2 separate regions of the Homo sapiens genome follow, and region 2 is linked to region 1. The links are contacts of gene promoters, found by promoter capture Hi-C in human tissues and cell types (Jung and others, 2019). All regions are on one chromosome and are shown on one strand. Each heading gives the region's core, a stretch centred on a gene start or on the middle of the fragment in contact. The rest is flanking DNA. Distances are from core to core; before and after follow the strand shown.

Region 1 (4,001 bases), core at 281-2,780:
AGTATACCCATTGTAACTATCACAGCCTTTAATATACACATTGTTAACTACCACAGACAGCCTTTAATATATTATATACATTGTAACTATCACAGATAGCCTTTAATATATACATTGTAACTATCGCAGACAGCCCTTTGTTTGAGGGTAAAGCATGTGACTTTGTTTTCCTCCTGTTCCCTCTGCCATCCTCCAGGGCCTCACACACAATAGGCTCTCAAATATTGCAACCATCTTGCACTCTGCAGGGCAACCTCATGGCTTATCCTTTACAAGTGGCATACTCAGAAGAATAACGAGGAAGAAAGTGTAAGAAAAGAGGGCTGTTTGGGCAAAGAAAATCTGGTTGATTCGATGTTTACAGAGTGCCAGGCCCCATGCTTGATCTCATGAGGTCCTCAGACCTTATGCCTTAGGCTATCATTTCCATTTTACAGATAAGGAATTGAGGCTCAGGGAACTGAGAGTGAGGGAAGGGCAGGGGCCTGGCTGGTGCTGGGTTCTGTCTCTTTCCAGGCAAGAAGGGACATGTGGACTTGAATATTTAGCTCAGGGATGTTGGAGGCCTAGGGTGCTGCTATTTAAATGGAAAGGGTGTCAGGGTTTCTGGGAGGGAGTAAGGGGACAGAAGAAAAGATGCTTCTGTTATCAGAAGGGAGTGGCAACGTGACAGGATACTGAAGCTTCCTCTTTTCTTATTCTGTCTCGTTTCTTTCAATATACTTATCACAATGTGTGGCTGATATTTATTATGCCTTTTTCTTTTCTATTCTCTTTTCTTTTTTGGGGCAGGGGAGCTGTTTTGCCACCAAAACCTAAGCCCATGGCCGTCTTCTTCACCGATATGACTGGTTCTCATGCAAGCACCTAGATGGCCCTCGCCCATAATTACTGGCTGCAGTTGAGTGAATAGCGGTCATTATCTAGCGCCCACCGTGTGCCCGGCCCGGTGCCGGGAGCTTTGCTTTCCGTCTCTCACATTAGGCCCTTTTAATCCAACCCCCAAGAAGGAGACACGACCATCGTCTTCATTTTGACGATTTTGAGTGGGGGTTCCAATGACTTGAACGAAAGGAGCCAGGGCACCAATCCGGGTTTGTGTAGCAGATGCCGGTGAGACCCGACTACTGCAGCTCGGGGGTGGCCGGACCCGGGGTCTCCCCGCTGAGTCTCGGGGCTTCACCGGCGCGTGGGCACAAGCACAGCACCCTCGGGTCGGGGGTGCTAGGAGGGCTAAGAGCAGCAGGACTTGAGTGACACCCAACAGCTGGTCTGATCTCTTTCAGGCGCCAACGCCAGACGCCAGCCTCCCAGCGGACCCTCTCGCAGACCCACCTTCACCCCACGCGCCCTCCCCACACAGTCCACGCGCCAGCAGCTTCGCGGATGTCAGTGAACGCTCTTCGCTTGCGCAGTCAGAACGTCCTCCGCGGCCGTGTGAACATCCGGGTCACAGGCGCATAAGGACCAATGAGCGAAGGCATCGCGAGCCAGGGGGCGCGGAGAAGGCGGGGAATCATGGCCGCCCCCAGTGTTCCGCGTCCGGGGGTTTGTGGGAGTTGCCTTGACCTGCAGCTCCGCCACCGCGGACCCGCCTTCTGCCCTCAGCAGCAGACGCTCTGTCCCGCCCGGGCAGCTCTGCGAGGCAGCGGCTGGAGAGGGAACCATGGGGACTGTGCACGCCCGGGTAAGAGGCCCAGCGACCCGCGGGCTGCGAGGCCTCTGGGCCAGCAGGGCAGACGGGCGCCGCGGGGAGACGCTCTCGTGGCTGCGCCCAGGGTTCACCGGGAGAGAGGGTGCCAAGGGTGCCGGGCTGGGTGGAGGAGGCCGAAAAGAGGTCGCCTCGGGCCAGCGAGTCTTGCAGACCTTCGAGCAGGAACCTGATAGGAGGGACGAGACTTGGCTAAAGGTCACTCGGCGAGTCCGTGGCCCAAAGGACTTGCCAACTTTCTGTGATGTCTTAGACCGCAGTGAATGTGCTCTTTCTTTGCATGATTTTAAGTTTTCTCTCTTTACTGGTCACTTCCAGCCTTTCCCCGCTCAGCCGCTGCTGGAGCCATTGTAGGCTCCTAGAGCAACAAGAATCCTTTGAAGTCTTCTAACTCAAACCTATCTAGGGGTCCTCTTTTCTCCTGTCTACCGTGCAAAAGACGGAACCGCTCTCTGCCTTACTTCCTGTTTTAAAGTGGAGGTAGTAATAGTACCTACCTCGCCTGGCTTAAAAGAGAATTAAAAGACAATGCATGTGAATACTTGGGTGCCTGGCGCCTGACTAACTGTACTGGTTGCCAAACTCCTCTCGTTTATCCTAATCTTAAATAAGGGCCAGATAATGAGTTACTTCTCCAAGGTCACATAGTTACTGGTTCCAAATGGCCTAAAACCTCAGATTTCCTGAGTCTCAGCCCCAACACTACTTTTCTACTGCAACTTTGATTGCTTCACTTGACCTGCATAGACGTTTTCAGTAGTTCCCCATTAACTTCCAAAAAAATTTAGCACAGAAGTCGCAGCCTGACATCGATAATTGGACTTAACTTCCCTTTATATGTCTTTCATTCAGATCAAACACCGTTTCTCTTCTGACATCTCTTTGTGTAACTGTAATAGGTCTGTTGCTCAGTGTGCTCGATAAGTCAATACACTCAGACAGTGGGTTGCAGCAGAGAAAGAGTTTCAGTTGCAGGGCCGCTGAACGAGGAGATGGGAAAAGAGAGGAAACCTCAAATCCATCTCCTTCAGGAGTTTGGACCTCATGTTTTTGCTGAAGTGTGGAGATCCTTGATTGGTGGAAGAGTGAAGGGTGAAGTTATGGGACAGGGAGATGAGGAAACTTCTCATGCTGATTCCGTTCCTCTGTTGCGGGGAGGAGTCTTCAAACTGGTTGGCAGCATCAGTTTTGCTGGAATTCGAGATCTGAAAAACATCTAAAGCAACTCTTAAGCAAAAGCCTTATGATTCTAATTTTAGAAATCCTATCTGTAAAATCAATGGGGATGCAAATAGTATCTGTGACTTTTGGTTACTAGCAAGTAGGTCAGAGTGCAACCTGAGCTCTTCCTGCCATCTTGGCTCCTGTGGCGGCCTGCCGGGAGCAGGACTTCTGAAAGGAAATATGTCTGGAAGGCTGTGGTCCAAGGCCATTTTTGCTGGCTATAAGTGGAGTCTCCGGAACCAAAGGGAGCACACAGCTCTTCTTAAAATTGAAGGTGTTTATGCCCGAGATGAAACAGAATTCTATTTGGGCTCATGTATACAAAGCAAAGAACAACATAGTGACTCCTGGCGGCAAATCAAACAAAGCCAGAGTAATCTGGGGAAAGGTAACTCGGGCCCACAGAAACAATGGCATGATTCGTGCCAAATTCTGAAGCAATCTTCCTGCTAAGGCTGTTGGACACAGAATCCGAGTAATGCTGTACCCCTCAAGGATTTAAACTAATGAAAAGTCAATAAATCAATGTGGATTTGTGCTCTTGAAAAAAAAAAGGCAACTTGATTAATGGTTAATTGTAACTACATTTCTTTTGAGATGGAGTCTCACTGTGTTGCCCAGGCTGGAGTGCAATGGTGCAATCTCCACTCACTGCAACCTCCGCCTCCCAGGTTCAAGCGATTCTCCTGCCTCAGCCTCCCATGTAGCTGGGATTATAGGCGCACGCCACCACACCCAGCCAATTTTTGTATTTTTAGTAGAGACGGGGGTTTCATCATGTTGGCCAGGCTGGTCTTGAACTCCTGACCTCAAGTGATCATCCCGCCTCGGCCTCCCAAAGTGCTGAGATTACAGGTGTGAGCCACTGCGCCCAGCCAATTATAACTACATTTCTGTCCAGATGTCCAGAATAATTTTTTTTGTTGTTGTTGAGACAGAGTCTTGCTCTGTGCCCAGGCTGGAGTGCAGTGGCACGGTCTTGGCTCACTGCAAGCTCCACCTCCCAGATTCACACCATTCTCCTGCTTCAGCCTCCTGAATAGCTGGGACCACAGGCGCCTGCCAC
Region 2 (4,126 bases), core at 1,610-4,109, 680 kb before region 1:
GGAGTCCCGGCTGCGTCACAAGCAGTGGCGCTCACTTCCTCTCCCTCAGCTGTGCATGAGGGGCGGCAGCGGGTACTTCTCATGGCCCTTCGAGGACAAAAGGGGCTCATGGGCTCGGGGCACAGTAGGTACGTTTGGATCATCGGCAGGTACAGCCACTTTGGGGACATAAGCCAATTCCCGCCACCGACTCAAACTTAGTCTGGTGACTTGTCGCTGCACTCAACAGACAAACGTGTGGGCGATCTGTGATGTGCCCTGGGGGCACAGGAGTCAGGCGCTCTGTGATGTGGAGGCGAGGCTGGGCAGCGGGAGGGAAAGGTGTTCTGGAGCAGGAACAAGCCCATGCAGAGGCCTGGGGAGTGAGGCTGGGGGTCTCTGCGCTTCTGACAGACAAACTGGGGCTGGAGAGGCCTCGTGGAGAGAAGCCGGCAGACCTGCAAGCTGACCAGCTGTGGAAGGGAGCAAGGTGGGACAGCAGTGCAGGACCCAGCAAACCACGACGCGCTGGGCGTCCCTCTCCTGGCGGTGGGCTGGGCACACTGCTCTGCACGAGGGGTGTGAAGGCACTTTGTGAACGGATGATGCACACACTTCGGGCATGAGTCCCTCATGAGATGGTCTCATCTCCTCTACACTCCCATGCGGCATGTTTTCCTCTGCACCCTGCCCTGTGTGAGACGTGAGAAACACAAGGATGACTTAAACACATCCCTGCCCTTCTTGGGAGCTCATGGACTGGTCCTGCAGTAGAGGGCTGAACCATTTCAAACACATGAGTGCAAGTAAAGAGGAAGACGTGCACGCCTGCCTAAGAGTCAGAGACAGCTTCAGAGAGGAGGTGAAAGTGCGCTGGGTTTTGATGGATGACTAAGAGTTCTCCAGGAAGGGAGGGGAATGGGAAATGGCAGTAAAGGCAGAGGATGACACATACCGAGGTTGTAATCAGTAAAGGGCACGTGTGCCGTAACAGGGAGAACAACAGGCAGATGGGGAGGAACCAGGAGAGAGGAACTGGACTGTGGGAGGCCTTGGGAGGCAGGAAGGCAGCAGTGCCTGACAATGGAGGAACTCGGAGGGGGGCGGAGAAAGCGCCCCGGCTGCAGGATGCAGGAGGGAAGGGGGATGAGGCGGAGGTAGGGACACCAATTAGCAACCACAACCTTTGAAGAAGGCAGGGCAACAGGGGTGAGGAAGCTGGCTGGGTTTGGGAGGTGAGTAGAGCTCGGACGTGGGATCCGGTCACACTAGGATGTGGGAGCCACACAGGGGAAGGGTGAAGGCAGCACCCCAGCGCTGGTGCCCCACTGATGGGGGACGCGCTAGGAAGCACAGGTCTGGGAGGATGGGAAGATGCTGCGTTTGGTTTTGGGCAGGTGGGAATTCTGTAGCTGGGGTCCCCGTCTAGGGGACAGTTGGTACTGGGGTCAGAGCTGGAGAAGTGGCCACTGCTGGTCAGCAAGGAGACTCAAGAAGCTTAGGGGAGAGCTAGGAGAGGGCTGAGGCAGAGGAGGAGCCAGGATCGGGGGCTGAGGAGGAAGGGAAGAAGTCCCATGGGACGTACATGCTGAAAGAGTCTGGTGACATAATCAAGCAGCCACCAGGCCGGGAGACAAAAACCCACCTGGCTGGCCTCAGGCGGGTGACGAGGACCTGGGGAATGCTGCGGCCAGGGGTGGCCAGGCAGACGTCCCACCAGGAGATTGGCCTTGTGGCCACAGTCACAACCCAATTTCCCTAATGAGGCTAGGGAGGGCTCACACCACTCCCTAATGACCCAGGATGACCTCGGCTGCTTCCCCACTCTGCCAACCAGGCATCTGCCCGGTGGTTTCCGAACCCACACTCCAGATCTGCATGACTTTCCATGCGTAGGGCCTGTGCCCACAAACCCCAGGTGGGAAGCCAGGCTGTGGGCTACGGTGTAGGGGGTGGGCACTGGTCTGGAGCCTAGGGGCCTGGGACAAGTTCCAGCTCTGCCCCCAACATGCTAAGTGACCTCTGACAGGACACATGGTGTTTCCAGGGCCTCTGCTACTTCACTCTAGAACAGGCGTGCAGGCCAGCTTCCCTCCAGGGCAGCATGCTTTCGGTTCTCACGCACGTCAACTCCATGACCTCGCCTCAGCTTTTCCTGACTGCCTGCTCCCTACAGACCCCAGGCTGGACACTGGGGGGCCAGCGGGTCCTTGTGTCCAAGGGCATATCCTCACTTGGGGGAGAAAGGCCCGGGAGCAGAGACATGAGAGACAGGGCAGGGAGGCTGAGGGTGGAGGCCGAATGAGACAGAGGCAGGGATGCGTAGGTTCCACCTGGGGGATCAGGAGGTGTGCGGGGAAAAGGTGTAGAGGGTTCTCAGTGAGCGATGGTCAGTCAGGATGAGCGGGAGTTCCAGACAGAGGGAGCTGTGTGGGCAGAGGCCGGGATGAGAAGTTCACTATGGCTGGTTCATGACATGCCAAGCAAGGACAGGCTGCAGAGAACCACATTCCTCTCAGGAGCCATGGGAAGGTCTTGAGTGGGGAATGACAGAGCCAGAGGGTTGGGCAGAGCAGTGGTTCTGGCTGCTACCAGAAGGCTTGCGGGGCAGGGAGGCCTGTGAGGCAGCTGCCGCACTAACTCAGGCAAAAGACGGCAGCGCAGCCCTAGGCAGAGGGCAGCATGGCGAGACAGGGGCTCCTTGTGTCACAGGGCATCTGGGCTGCACAGCACCCCTGCCCCTGGCCCCCCATCCATTGGTTCATCAAGTGTCTTTGATCTTAGGAGGCGGTTGGGCCTGGGTGCAAATCTTGGCTTTGCTACTTCTTCACTACGGACAAGTCTCTTTGCTTTTCAGCCTCCATTTGCTCACCTGCAAAATGGGGTAGCTACATGACACAGACTGTTCTCAGGATCTGATGACTCGTGTCAGAGTCTATGCACTATGCTCAGCTATGATGCGTATGACAGCTTTGCACAGTTCTAGTGATCTGGACCGGGCTCTACATGAGGCGATGTCTTGTATATACGATCTCATTTTAATTCTCGTAAACAATTCTGTCATAAAATATATGAATGTTTGCCCCAGGACTTGTGGCAGAGAAGGACGCCAGGGCTGGGCAAGCTACCTGTTGGCCTAGCCCTCTGGGTTGCAGCTCTCCCTGCCCTGCACCCACAACTCTGGGAGATTTGAAAGTTCTGCAGCTTAGGGGAAATTTATACCACTGATGTGAAGTCAGTACTGGGGGTGCCCCTGGCGCCGGCTCAAGGCCAGGCCAGGAGAGGGGCGTGAAGCTGGGCTTACCAGCCGAAAGAGTTGTTTATGGAGTGGGAGGCTCATAAAAAATAATGGGCTGGATTTATTGTCCCCACCTTGAGGGCCATTCCGGACCGCACAGGGCCAGGACAGGCCTCCTCCGGTAGCACCATAAATCTCTCCAGTAAGCAAGGGAGCTGTTTATTCTCCTGTCCACCTGGTCTGCAGCAGGCAAGGGAGCGAGGAGAACCTGCAACCCCACATGTCCTGCCTGGCGCCCTTGCCTGGCTGATCTTCTCCAAGGAGTGGCTGAAGAAGGCAGGTGCTGAGGCTGGGATGGGATTCGGAGGCATGGCCACACCCTCTCTTTAAACAGGAAGTTCCTAGCCGTGCTGCCCCAGCACTCACAGTTGATAATGGAAAGCCCTGGAACAGGGCAGGGGATGTCTCTGGCCCTGCAGGAGCCGTGCTAGGGCCCCTCAGGTCAAGGCCTGGCCCAGATCCTATAGGAATCCCGTCCCAGGAGCCAATAGGAACCTGACAGCTAGGCACACTGATAGGATCCTATCAATATGTGGCTGAGGTGGCTCAGGAGGGCCCATGGGTCTCTGTCCATTGGCTTGTTTCTTTGAGTCTGCAAGTGGATGGTGCAGGGCAAAAAGAACTGACATTGGCCTCAGAATCCAGCCCCTGATCCTGAAGTCCTGCCCCCCCAGTGCAGCTCAGGGAAGCTCAGTTTTCCCTCCCATGATGGGGACATTAGTACTTATCCAAAGCATGTCACAGGGTGGCTGTGAGCATCAGGCGACCCTGTATGGAAACCACAGCAAAGCTCCAGGAGGGTGGAGCTGGGCCTGTCGAGGACACCTGAGCTGCGGGAGGGTGGGGCTG

The links. The method cuts DNA at HindIII sites, captures the fragments that hold promoters and counts their contacts. A contact is called where the count stands out against the background at its distance.
Region 2: a fragment that was not itself captured here is called in contact with the fragment with the promoter of SAMM50 in region 1 in 1 of the 25 tissues and cell types used here (lymphoblastoid cells).

Annotation. Positions count from the first base shown.
Region 1 is chr22:43,953,912-43,957,912 of GRCh38, forward strand. It overlaps SAMM50 (SAMM50 sorting and assembly machinery component), which reads left to right and starts at 1,531. Exons shown (of 15, transcript NM_015380.5): 1 at 1,531-1,687. The coding sequence starts at 1,667. It also overlaps the pseudogene RPL35AP36. RefSeq lists enhancers at 756-1,508, 1,176-1,225, 1,306-1,385, 1,509-2,260, 2,066-2,275 and a silencer at 1,349-1,623. The HindIII fragment of the contact is 14,031 bases long and covers 1-3,821 here.
Region 2 is chr22:43,274,798-43,278,923 of GRCh38, forward strand. All of the region lies in intron 4 of SCUBE1 (signal peptide, CUB domain and EGF like domain containing 1), which reads right to left. It overlaps SCUBE1-AS1 (SCUBE1 antisense RNA 1), which reads left to right and starts at 1,145. Exons shown (of 2, transcript NR_134582.1): 1 at 1,145-1,214. RefSeq lists an enhancer at 2,923-3,423. The HindIII fragment of the contact is 5,790 bases long and covers 1-4,126 here.